Linked DNA regions of Homo sapiens: region 1 is linked to region 2. Evidence: promoter capture Hi-C in human tissues and cell types (Jung and others, 2019). All regions are on one chromosome and are shown on one strand. The core of a region is centred on a gene start or on the middle of the fragment in contact, and the rest is flanking DNA. Distances in the headings are between cores, read along the strand shown.

Region 1 (6,144 bases), core at 3,444-5,943, 150 kb before region 2:
GGATCTAGGAAGGATCTGCCCCATGCTTTTCTCTTAGCTCCTGGTGTTTGCTGGCAACCCCGAACATTCCCTGGCTTGTAGCTGCATCACTGCAATCTCTGCCTCCATCTTCTGTGTCCTTCTCCGTCTGTGTCTGTCTCTTCTCCTTTTTTTTTTATAAGAACCCAGTCTATTAAACGAAGGCCTATTCTAATGGAGTATGACCTCATCTTAACTTGATGACATCCAAAAAGACTCTATTTCCAAATAAGGTCAGATTCCCAGGTTCCAGGCATCAGGGCTTTGACATATCTTTTTAGGGGACACAGTTCCATCCATAATTCTCCCTGAAGCTAAAGATGCCGGGAATAAAAAGCTCTTAGCAGCTTCTGTTTCTCTTCTCATTTAACTCTCTTGCCTTTTTTTTTTTTTTTTTTTTTGAGGCAGAGTCTTGCTCTGTTGCCCAGGCTGGAGTACAGTGGCATGATCTTGGCTCACTGCAACCTCCACCTACTGGATTCAAGTGATTCTCCTGCCTCAGCCTCCTGAGTAGCTGGGATTACAATCACCTACCACCACAACTAGCTAATTTTTTTGTATTTTTAGTATAGACAGGGTTTCACCACGTTGGTCAGGCTGGTCTTGAATTCCTGGCCTCAAGTGATCCACCCACCTTGGCTTCTCAAAGTGCAGAGATCACAGGCGTGAGCCACCGCGCCCTGCCTCCTTTGCCTTTTCAACGCCTTACGTAAGATAGAACTAGAAATGGGAAGCCCCCACCAAGAAATTTCAGGAAGATTCTGGTCTAAGAGAGGCAAAGAGACCCCTCTGACGTCCCATATCTCCTTAGAGCCTCTGGAGAGCAGCAGAGACCATGAGCTGCTCTGTTGCAACCGACTGGTGACAGATCCAAGGGCCGGATGCATTACTGAGGTGAGGCGAGGCGAGGGGGCAAGTGATGGGGATGGGCGGGGAGGCCCTGCAGGAGGCCAGGCAGACACGCGGAGCCAAGAGGCAGATGCAGCAACATCCCTCATGATGGAGCTGGATTTCCAAGAAAAACAGAAACTCTGCTTCCTCACTTCAAAGAAAAGCTGGTGCCGCAGATTCAAGGGCCTTTTCCTCTCCTGCTTGCCGGCGGCTGTTTGGAGATGAGATACATGCACACAATAGTTCTGATGACCGGACTGGCCGAGTCACAGGACACCCTGGAGCAGACAGCGCTGAGCCTTGATGCGTGTGCTCCAGCCTGGGTCTTCCCGCCATGGCAACAGGACAGGATGAGCTCCAGGCAGATGGAACTGCAGACGCTGTGTGATGGCCTCACATGCTCCCAGGTGCAGTACACGGGGATTCATGCAGCCAAGCTGGGTGCTATCAGGGTGGTAGCTCTGTGACCACACTGTGTGCAGTTGCATGTGTGTGTGTGTGTGTATATATATATATACACACACACACACACACAAAAAGGATGTATAGCCATAAAGCACACTCTCAAGGGCTCCCACTCTGCCTCCTTTCCTGGGTGCATACCTAGAGTATGCACACACTGGGACCATGCCCAGTCTCGAGCATGCCAACATCGTGCATGAACCGGCACACAGAGACCAACAGTAAGCTCTGCTCACCAGCTGAATGCACCGCTGAGATCGCTTCTTTATCCCAGGAACCATGCTTCCCAGGCTCCCTTGCCCTTGGCTTCTGGGTAGGTTTGGTCAGTAGGAGGCTCTGATGGAAAAGAGGGCCGTCAAAAGGGGAAAGTCAGGGTATTTCGCCCCCTCTTCCTTGGACAGTGTTTCTGCAGCTGCTGCATCTCCTCTGGGGGTCTAGTTACTTCTGGAAAGCCCCTCCCTCTGTGGTCCCAACCTCCTCCGGTAAAACCACTCTCTCATTTTCTCTCTGAAAGGGGCTTCCTGCAGCCCCACATCTCAGTGCCTGATGCTTCTCCTGTTTGGCTTCTCAGCTCTTCCATCACCCGAGTGATCAACTCCCTCTATTAAATTTCCTCTGTCTGAAAGACACAGAGTGGTTTCTGTTTTCCTGGATGGACCCTGACTGAGAGAGTAATGATAATGACCATTTAGTAAGCATTCAGAATGTACCAGTGACTCTCACTAGGTGAGTTCTGTGAATTCTCACATGGGTAGAGGATAAGGGTGATATGTTGACTCTATTGTGTAGATAAGGAAATGAGGGTCTGGGAATCTAAATAATTTGTCCAAGAAGAAACCTCCACTTGAACCCAATTGCAATAGAAAGAATACAAACTTTGGAACAAATCCCATCTTAACCACTTAGCAGCTGTGTGACCTCAGGCAAGTTACCTAATCTTTCTGAGCCTGTTTCCTTGTTTCAGAAAATTTTCATCACCCCAAATGGAAACCCTGTACTCATTAAGCAGTCAATCCCATTCCCCTCTCCCCTCAGCCCCTGGCAACCACGAATCTGCTGTCTTTTTTCTGTAAATACACTGGATATTTCGTATAAATGGAATCACTCAAGATGTGGCTGTTAAGAATTGACTGTGTCCCCTCCCCACACCAAATCCATTCATGTAAGTCCTAACCCCCAGTATCTCAGAATGTGGCCTCATTTTGAAATAAAGTCATTACAGATGTAGTATAGTTAAGGATGATGTCATTAGGGTAGACCCTAATCCAGTATGACTGGTGTTCTTATAAAAAGAGAAATTTGGACAGAGACACATGCACCCAGGGAAAACGCCATGTGAAGAGAAGGCGGAGACGAAGGTGATGCTTCTACAAAGCCAAGGGACACCAAAGATTGCCAGCAACCACTGGAAGCTAAATTCTCTCTGTAAATTGGAGATAGTTAAAGAGTGAAGACATTAGTTAAGACGCAAGCCTTGTACCATCTGCTCCAAGCGATCTGTGCCCTCCCCCTGGAGCTGGACTTATCCGCCTCACTCATATGTCTTCTGCTCTTCCTGTGTGTCCTGTCTTGCTCAGTGACATCACCCTTCCCCATAATGGGCTCTCATTCTTGCATCCAGTCTATTTCCAAGGCACCATCTCCTTCAAATCCACCATCTCCTCCATTCCACTGTCCTAATTCAGGACTCATCCCCCCGGGCTGGAATTTTCCAGTGTTTCCCCAACAAGTGCCCCTGCCCTAGCCTTGCTCCCTCCGCTCCGTCCTGCATAGGAGAAGCCACATGAGCTCTCCAGACACACATCAGCTCTGAATGTCCCCTTGGTGAGACCCTCAACCCACACGGCTGGGCCAGGAGGGCCAGAGGCAGGCTCCTAAGCAGGTATGATGGAGCGAAGGGCCCTTTTGCTTCTGTTCTCCTACCTCCCTGTCCCCAGCTTCTGGCCTCCTCTCATAAGAGGCTTTCTGTTTCGATAGTACCAGATTTCTTAGGCATCCGGGAACAATCCCTCTGTCCCATGCATCCCAGGAGCTGGCTCAGGGCCGGGGGCCCCTGGTAGGCACTGGGTAACTATGGAATGCCCCGGAGCAGGCATGATGTTTCTGGAACTTTGCCTGTGTTCTGTCTGGAACCTTCTTCTTCTTCTTCTTCTTCTTTTTTTTTTCCTTTTTTAAACAAACTTGTGTTCATCTTCCTAAACTGGCTCACATGACTTACCATCTAGAAACTTCCCTGACCACATCCCTTGCCTCCAAGGACCTTCCTCTTCCCACTCTGTGCTACTGCCACTCCTTGGACGTGCACTTAACGCATTTCCACACAGAATCGTAACAGATGGCCGTCCCTCTGTCTCCCTTCTCCCACTGGACGCTGATTTCTTTGAGGAACAGGACAGGATTCTACTTTTCATCTGGGTGCTCCATAAAATGTCTGCTGGATGAATAAAGAATGAATAGGAGACTGCATGTGTGCATTCAGGAAGGAAGACGTGTGCCTCTGTATATTCCCCTGCCTGGGGAACTCTTACACATTCTGCAAGACAAGAGTAATGTTGCCTCCTCTGGGAAGCCCCCCGGGACTTTCCCAGGCTGATAGAGGCCAAGCCTCCCTGGAATTGAGTGCACTAAGACAAATGACACTCTAACATCACAAGCCTCACCCTGACACTCCTTTCTTTTCTTGCTTTTTGTTTGTCTCTCTTGGACAATAGACTCATTACTGAATTGCTGTCTGTTTTATTCTCTGCTATGAAGAAAACTTTCCCTATCACTTCGAATGCTGCTTGAGCAGTAGCAGACACTCAATATTAATATTTGCTGAATGAATGAATGAATGAATCTGGGAGTGCCCAGGACTCAGCCTGGGATTTAGTTTTCAAATCCTCAATGAGCATTTTCTGGATTTGAATAGAGACTAAGAAAATGCAGGTAGGGAGTTGGAAACAGATAAGGCAGGATGAGGGCGGGTGGTGGGAGCCCCCCAGAGCAGGGTACCAGGCAGTATCTCCCGATCACAGCTGCCCAGGCTGGGAGAGAGGACGGTCTCAGAGAAGCAAGGCCATTCTTTGCCCTTGGGTCAGACCCTCCTCACCCCAACCATGTCAGTCCCCTGCCACCCTTTGGTCTGGTCTCGTTGAGCTGGTGTGCTCAGCTCAGTGGGGCATTTCCCCAAGGATGAGGTCGAGGTGAGCAGAATGACACTGGGCTTGTTGTCAGCACAGACTCCCAGCCTGGTAACCCTGGGGACCCTGAGGCAGGCTCAGGCTCGAGGCTAAACTCAGGCTCGGGTTCAAGTCAAACTCTGCCCCTGCTGCTTCGCCTTCTGGGTGAAGAATCCAGGGTGACAGAACCCACCTTCCTGTGGGGTTATGAGGATCCCATGAGAGACAGCACAAGCAGATGGCGAGGCAGGAACAAGTGGGAGGTCATGTCATTCTGAACAGCTCCGAGTCTCAGAATCTGCAGATACAGGAGTATCTTTCTCCTCCAGAAGGTCAAACCCTGTTCCCAAGAGGCTGGGTGCAAAAATAAGTGCTGAATGAATGAATGAACGAGTCCCCAGAACATAGCACAGGGCTAGGCACACACATTCTCGACTAGTATTTGCTGGATCACCTAGGACTGAAGAAAATACAGGCCAGCAGTTGGGGATGAATGGGGGCGGGTGCAGGCTGGTGGCAGGCCATCTGTGAGTCTTTGTCATCCCAGACCTATATTTGTTTTTTGTTTTTGTTTTGAGACAGGGTCTTGCTTATTGCCCAGAGCTGGAGTGCAGTGGTGGCTCACTGCAGCCTCAAACTCCAGGGCTCAGGCAATCCTCCCACCTCAGCCTCCTGTGTAGCTAGGGCTAAAGGTGTGCACCACCATGTCCAGCTAATTAATTTTTTGTTGTTGTTAGAAACGGGGTCTCATTATGTTGCCAAACTGGTCTTGAACTCCTGGCCTCTAGTGATCCTCCTGCCTTGGCTTCCCAAAGTGCTAGGATTACAGGTTCAAGCCATTGCAGCTGGCTACTATTTTTAATTTTTACTGAAGATAATCTACAGAGAGTAATCCTAAGGGTGCAGTTAGATGAACATGTGTCTACACCCGTATAACCAGCACCCTGATCAAAATATAGAACATTGTTCACACACCTTGCACCCTCCCAGACAACAGCCCACAAAGGGAGCCACTGTGCTGAGCTCCGCTGCCTTGCATTCGTTTTGCCTGCTTTTGAACAGGGTATGAATGGAAACACACAGTATGATCAGCCTGTTTTTCTATCTGCTTTGTGCGAGCTGGGAGTCACCACGTGAATGCCAACAACCAGAACCTGGGTGTGAAAGTGTGCCAGTGGGTGGCAGCCCCTGCAAAACATGGGTTCCAGGGCTTTGAAGTGCATGGTTAATGTCTTCTTAAAGGATCTGTCTCGAGCAGAATGATTTTCACCTTCTTTGCGGAGAGTGCCCCATCTGAAGAGCCGCCCTCAGTCTGACAGCAGAATCCTTTCTCTTTAGACTGCATGAGTCAGACCTGGGGCCTGGCATCGTGCGTTGTTCTGGTCACGACGCTGTGCCCACCTCCTCCAAGAAGCCTGCTGTGCCAGCCCAGCCCACAGCCAGCATCTGGCAACCACGGGGACACACCTGAGGGGCGGGTCCTGCTCTCTTCCCATCTAAACTCCTCCTCCAGCCTGGGTAGCCTTCACTGTGGCCCCAGATTCCTGGGGTCACCATGGGTTATTTTGGATATTCGCAGCACACTGAGCCACCCCACAACCTCGCCTTTTCC
Region 2 (6,850 bases), core at 597-3,096:
TCCAAACAAGCGTGAACAATTCAGCCAATCTCCCCCTGCACCAAGTCACAGAGCCCCAGCTGACAAGCCTGAGAATGGCTGAGCTCCCTCAAGTGTGCTGTTGGCTTGTGGGGCCTGGGGTGCAGCCAGCCAGGATGCTGGGGTTCTCACATCACCAACAGCCCCAGCCACAGCAGGGCCACCTCTATCTTCCGTTGAACTGGACTACCCAGCCCCTCAGCACATCCACTGCCTTCCACATGACAAGAGAGAGGAGGTTTGGGGGTGGGGAGGTCTCAGGCACAAGCACAGATTTCACCCTGTTAGGCACCCTGGGGACCTGGCCCTGAGATGAGGTGTCCCCCAGCTACCTCCAGGGGCTGCGTTAGCAGAGAAGTGAGGCAGATCTAGGGCTTCTCAGGCAGGCAGGAGACTTCGGCATGAGGGGCTGGCTACAGGGTCTGCAAAGAGGTGCCACCAACCTGCCACTGAGATGCCTGTGGTCCTGAGATACTCTGAATCCAGGACATCAGAGCCAATCAAGGTCCCACACCCACACCCAGGCAATCCTGGCTGTTAATTGATCAAGACTTCAGGTTTGTGGAAATGAGGGGAATGGGTGTGAGGTGGCTGGGAGGGGAAGCCCCATCTTGTGTTCCCCAGGATGGATGTGGAGCAGAAGCCAGCCTCGGTGACAGCTTGTATGTGACATCTGTCAAACTGAGACAGCTCCCACTTGGGGATCCTGTCCTGGGTCCTGCTCTAACCCAGTCACTGATAATCCAGTGCAAAGTGGGTGAATCCCTTCCTTTCTGGGAACAAGGGCTTCCTTAACCACCGGCGTGCCTGGCAGGTACCGGAGGCAGCCCCGGGGCAGCCCTGGAGAAGCTAGTCAGAATATGAGCTTCTTTCCTCCCCAGCCAGGCTCCCGGAATTATTTCTCAAATCATTTTCAGTCCTAGGAAGTGATAATTTGATTTCACTTTAACATTTTTAACGAGCTGCATCTTCATCAACTGCCAAATTAGGATGAGAGCAAAGATCGGGGAATCACAATGAGAGGTTTTGGAGTGATTGGGGAAATCCAAATTTGGGGTGTGCCTGGGTGGTTGACACCTCACGCCCAGCACCTGCGGTGGGGTCCCCATAGCACCACCCTGATCACCCCCGCGAGTCCATCTCTGCTCAGTGGCTCCTGGCAGGGACACCTCCTCCTATCAACCCTTCTCACAGGCGGGAGAAGGAAGCCCCGGGTCCCACGAGCTGGAGAAATGAGGCCACCCTGCAGGCTGTGATAAGCGGGGAGTTGGACCCGCATAGGCCGACAGCCCAGCTCAACAGGTGGTGGTGGGCTTATCCCTTCCTGCATTATCCGGATAATAATCTGCCAGCCCCATTCAAGTCCGTCGTGGAAAAGTCTGCCCTCAGCTTTGGCATGGGTAAATTGCCTAGAAGCGACTGCAAAGAGGGGGCGTCATCATCTCCCCCGATACATCCTTGGGACAGACAGATGGACAGACAGACACACGCACACGCGCATACACACGCCCGCGCTCCCCACCACACTGCCCCTTCCAGGGTGCGCGATCGCTAGGGCTCTCCAGCCCCTGCCCCTGGCTGGGCTGTCATGGGGGCGCAGCCCGGCGCCGCGGCCCAGCACCGGTGGGAGACCGTCCCCCAGGGACCCCCCCAGGATGGAAGAGGTGGTCTCTCCCGGTCTTCCCGGCTCTTACCTCGCTGGAGCGGCCGCGACCCCCGACCCTGGTCCAATGTCCCTCGCCGGCTGGGCGCGCGGGGCGGGAGGTACCGCGCTAGGCTGCCCGGGACGCCCGCCCCGTCCAGTCAGCCGGAACCGCTCGGCGCCAATGACCGTGGCCGCCGCCGCCGCAGCTCGCGCCCCGGACCCCGAGAGGGAGGGGCGGGCAGGGGGCGGGGCCGAGGGCGGGGCCTCCCCACCCCGGCGCTGCCAGCTGCAGGCGGGGTTTGGGACCGGTCAGATGCGGTCTCCCAGCCCGGGAGGTGAGCACCTCTGGGGTGAGCACCCTTGTGGGGGTGGCAGGTGAAGAGTTGGGGGCCGGCGTGGGAGAGGAGAGGCTTTCAGAGTCCGCATAGGGCTGGGAGACCCTGCCTGGAGTCAGACTCACCTTCAAATTCCAGCAGCTGGGGCTGCAGCCTCTGCCGTTGCTGCTGCTTTTAAATAAGGATGATGATGATGATGATGATGATGATGATGGTGATAGAACAACAATGCCAGCTAGTATTTATTGAGCACTTACTAGTGTAAGCGTTCAATGAGCTTCACATGTATTAAGTCATTTAATTCTCACACGAATCCCATTTTACAGATGAGAAGACTGAGGCACAGGGCGCTTAAGTGAGGAGTCTGAGGACACACAGCTGGAAAATGGCAGAGCCAGGACTGCAGCTCAGGCCTGTCTAAGTGCAGAATCTGAGCCTTTAAAGCCCCACTCTGCTTTTGTACTGTGTGGCCTTAAGCAAAGTGTTTGTCCCTCTTAACAGTAAAATGGTAATATATGTCCAATAAATGGTGGCAACTAACAATAAAACATTTCTTCCTTTCTTAGGTTCTATGTCTCCTTTAGTCTCTGGGTCCTGGACACCCAATAGGTGCTCAATAGATGTTTGTTAATCTATGACTAATTTGAAAGTGGCAGCTGGAGCCAGTGTGGTCAGCCAGGTTGGAAGGGGAACCCAAGGGCTAACTCTTCCTGGCCTGCATAGCCACATATCTTTTATTGCTTTGAAATGGCAGCCTGACCGATATCTTTGTCCGGCACACTTGTGCAGATGCTCACAGACCAGCAGCTTCCCCTCAAAGGCCTGTAAAATCCCTGCAGACCAAGAGGGGGTCAAAGATGTGGCATGTGGAAATATTTGGGGGCAAAGTTGGTTGCTAAATAATGAGACATCAGCAGTGAACATATTAGTTTAAAACTGTAGGGCAGAAACTTTTATAGAAGCATCTATGTTGCTGAGGTCTCCTGACATGGGAGGACTTTGTCACATGTGAATGGGGCCAGGTGGAGTTGGGACAACTGAAGGTTTTTGGAAAGGATACACCACGTGTCTATTCACAGCATTTTAGGCCTATGCAGTTTTCCGCTTTTTCTCCCTTTTCCCACCTACCCCAAGAGTGTTCTTCTCTATCCCCCAGAATACCCTGATGGAAATCCAAGAATGGATTTCTTCTTCTTCGTCTCTGGGCCCAGGAGCCTCTTGCACAGCTCTCACCAGTATGGCAATGATGAATTTACTGTCAATCTCCCTAACTATGCTGGGAGCCCCTTAAAAGGAGAAAGTCTGACGCATAGTAGGCACATTGTATTTGCTGAATGAATGACTGGAAGTTGGACACATCTCCCCAAGACTAAAGCTGTCAAGGAGAAAACCACCAAAGAAAACCTCAGAGGTGGCTGGATCAATGAAATGAAAAGATGAAAACGGGCAAAGCACCCAGGAGATGTGCCTTTTGCAAAGTCTGCAGGTCATTTTCCCAGCAAAGGCCAGAGAGGCTGGCCTGGGATCCATGCCCTGTGGGTCACCTCTGCGGGCCGTCGCCATGTCCTCCAGCCATTGAAGAGTAAGTGTATGGAGTGGGGGTGAGCAGACTGCCTGGTGTTGGGTGTGAGGAAAGGGGTGGGTGGAAGAGGGAATGTCCTCCCTTGTGGGTTAATTGAACAATCCCAGAATGTCCACTTGCCCCCTAGATAGGCCCCCTTTTTGATCTGTGTGACCCTATTCTCTGGATCATCTTGCAATGCTTATGGAGAAATAACAGATCAATTGGTTGCAGAAAACACCCTTCAAAAGGGAAGCTAGTGGCCGGGCGCGGTGGCTCATGCCTGTGATCCCAGCACTTAGGGAGGCCAAGGCAGGCAGATCATGAGGTCGGGAGATCAAGACCACCCTGGCTAACATGGTGAAACCCCATCTCTACTAAAAAACACACAAAAAAATTAGTCAGGCATGGTGGCAGGCGCCTGTAGTCCCAGCTACTCGGGAGGCTGAGGCAGGAGAATGGCATGAACCTGGGAGGCAGAGCTTGCAGTGAGCCGAGATTGCGCCACTGCACTCCAGCCTGGGTGACAGAGCAAGACTCCATCTCAAAAAAAAAAAAAAAAAAAAAAAAAGGAAGATAGTGTCCAGGGGTGCTCAAAGCCTCCTCCCCAGTCATTCTGCCCAAGGCAAGTGGGGAAGTCCCCACAACATGGGTGGTTGAAAAACAGCAATTTGGATCTGATGGAATGAGGTCTTCAACGTGGCTCTGCCCCAACTAGCTGTGTGACCTTGGACAAGTTACTTAACCTCTCTGAGCTTTCGTTCACTTCTCGATAACCAAAGCTGGCTTCATGGTTCTCAAAGCCTTGCTCTTAGGAAAGCTCTGTGCCTGGTTTGATGATCTGATTTTGCCATCTCGAAATTCTTAATCAGTTTTCAACAAGGGGCTACATCTTAATTGTTGCACCGGACTCCATAAAATTATGTCTCTGATGCTGGTGATAACGCCAACCTCACTGGTTTGCGAAAGCGAGATCATGTTTGCACAAGGGTCTGACACATTGGGGGCTCTCAGCAAAAGTTAGTTTCCCTTCCTCTGATCTGGCCGTAAATGATAAATAGAAATTCACCAGGTAGACAGAGGGCTGGGAAGGGAGTTTCAGGCAAAGGGGTCATCCTAGACGAAGGCCTGAGAATATGAAATTACATTCAGGGAAAGGCAAATGGTCTGAGGTAGGGTGGGCATGGGAAATGGAGGGAGACAAAACTGAAGAGACAACTGGGGCCAGAGTGGGAGAGGCTCCCAGTTCTTGTAAGGAGCTTGGCCCTCAGGCCCTCAGGTCTGTGATCAGGGAGCCTGGGACGTGAAGGTGGGTGAGCAACACCAACATCTGTGTCCCACGGTTGGGCCGCGGACTGGTTCAGATAATGAGACAGGCAGTGGGTGACGTGGGCGGGAGCACTGCTCGGAGGCTGCCAATACGGCGTGTTTGAAAGGCTGACTGTAGACATAATGGGAAAATGCTGTAGGTGTAAAAGCCAACAGCTGTGCTTGGGGATTTGGGGACTCCAGGCCTGATGAATAATGGAGCAGCCCTTCCACCCTGGGTCTCTTTTTCTATCCTTTTAATAATTCATGGATTCCCCATTGGTAGGGGAGTTTCATAAAACCTCAGCTCTCTCTCTGAATCCTGGGCCAGTCTGAACAAATCTGATGGCTTCACTCATTAGATCTTAATGAGAAACACACATCCATGTGCACATTATTTGCAGAATGTGCCTGTGTGGATGACAAGGAAGAGGCCCAGTTATGTCTAGGAGGAGGAAATGTCTTCCAGCCAGGCAGCCTCCTTCTGGTCCCTTGGGGGTGGAGGTGGTGACATGTGTCACTTCCAGGTGGAAGCTTTCGGAATCACTGAGTGCTTTGCCATGCTCGTCTCTCTGCCTTTGGGATTGTGGAGACAGTTGTCAAGATGGCACTCTGTCACTCTGAACTCCCACGTGATGACGAGGAGTAGAGATTCCTTACTGACCTCTGGCAGCCACATAGCATGAGCTGTATGTATCTTCTAGTACACACGGACTGGTTTATTTGAGCAAACAGATGTTGCTTCCAGTGTAGAGCAGAGATGGAATTCCAAACTCCAGATCTAAGTGGTCATCAACACTGATGTGGGACGATCAATACCAGACTGATCAATACGAGACCGATCAAGGCACCTTCAATCGTGTTGGGGATGGAGGAGACCAGAGCTTCTCAGCAGATCCAGGTCAAGTTTGAGATGAGCAGTATCTGAAAATGTGCAGAGTGTGCATACGTGTGTATGTCAGGAGGCTGGGGGAGAGGGAAGAGGGCCCCATGAAGTTGGGAGGGGGTGTAGGCAGAAAAACCTGGTCAAGGTCAGAGCAAGAAGAATTGAGCTCACTGTGGAGTTGCCCCTATAAATAATAATATTTATTGGCTAATAATAATAATATTAATCCCCACTACAGCTAATATCAATTACATGCCACGCACTCTGCTAAGTGCTTACCATGTGTTAAGACATTTAATTTTCACAACAGCCCTCTGAGCTAGGACAATTGCTAGCCCCTATTTCCAGATAAGGCTATGGAGGATTAAAAAGGTAATTTGCCCTACATATGGCCAAATTCTAGTGCTCAAAGGAGAATGGCACATTGAGGCTCCATCCACATCAGCATCACCCATGCTGTGAGTGGGCACAACAGCTGGAATCTTTAGGCCAGCTGTCAGGGCTTAAGCATGCAAAAGTTGGTCTCAGCAGGGGACCCAGGGAGCTGTGTCAGAGCCATGTAGCCTGGATGACTGAGCAAACAGGGAAGGCGGAGGTGACAGTCGCTGGCAAGGAGGCCCAAGGAATACTGTGCTTCAGAAAGCAAGAGGCTGATTGTCCATTCTGCTTCACGCAGGAGGCTGGGCCACCAAATGGCACTTCCTGTCCGAGCTGGTTGGTGGGGACCTAGAAGGTGGGGCTGTGCTTTTGGGTGTGCTAAGCCTCCAGATGAGATTGTTCACTCACCTGCTCCTGCTTGCTCATGAACTCAGTCCTGTGTTTCCCTCTTTTTCTCCTGGACTTGACTTTGTGTGTGGGGGTGGGGGTGGAGTCTGCAGGGACATTGGTCCTACCTCTCCCTTCCCCCCTCACTCAGCCCTCGCCACATCCCTCCTTTTCCCACCACCTCTCAATTCGGTCTGAGCTGTTCCCCACAGCCCCTCCCAGCTAGCGTCCCTCTCCTCTCCACAGCCCACTAAGGGCCTCATCAGGGCTCATATGTGGCTTCCTAAGAACCCTATCTCTTCCTCATTGAGAGTGTGCGGTCTCCTGTTCCG

The links. The method cuts DNA at HindIII sites, captures the fragments that hold promoters and counts their contacts. A contact is called where the count stands out against the background at its distance.
Region 1: a fragment that was not itself captured here is called in contact with the fragment with the promoter of CACNG5 in region 2 in 1 of the 25 tissues and cell types used here (neural progenitor cells).

What each region holds. Positions count from the first base shown.
Region 1 is chr17:66,983,336-66,989,479 of GRCh38, reverse strand. All of the region lies in intron 1 of CACNG4 (calcium voltage-gated channel auxiliary subunit gamma 4), which reads right to left. Among named protein-coding and RNA genes, the nearest start is that of CACNG4, 22 kb to the right of the region's middle. RefSeq lists enhancers at 3,833-4,092, 6,012-6,144. The HindIII fragment of the contact is 7,927 bases long and covers 730-6,144 here.
Region 2 is chr17:66,830,113-66,836,962 of GRCh38, reverse strand. It overlaps CACNG5 (calcium voltage-gated channel auxiliary subunit gamma 5), which reads right to left and starts at 1,846. Exons shown (of 6, transcript NM_145811.3): 1 at 1,713-1,846. RefSeq lists enhancers at 6,169-6,850, 6,528-6,850. The HindIII fragment of the contact is 10,169 bases long and covers 1-6,623 here.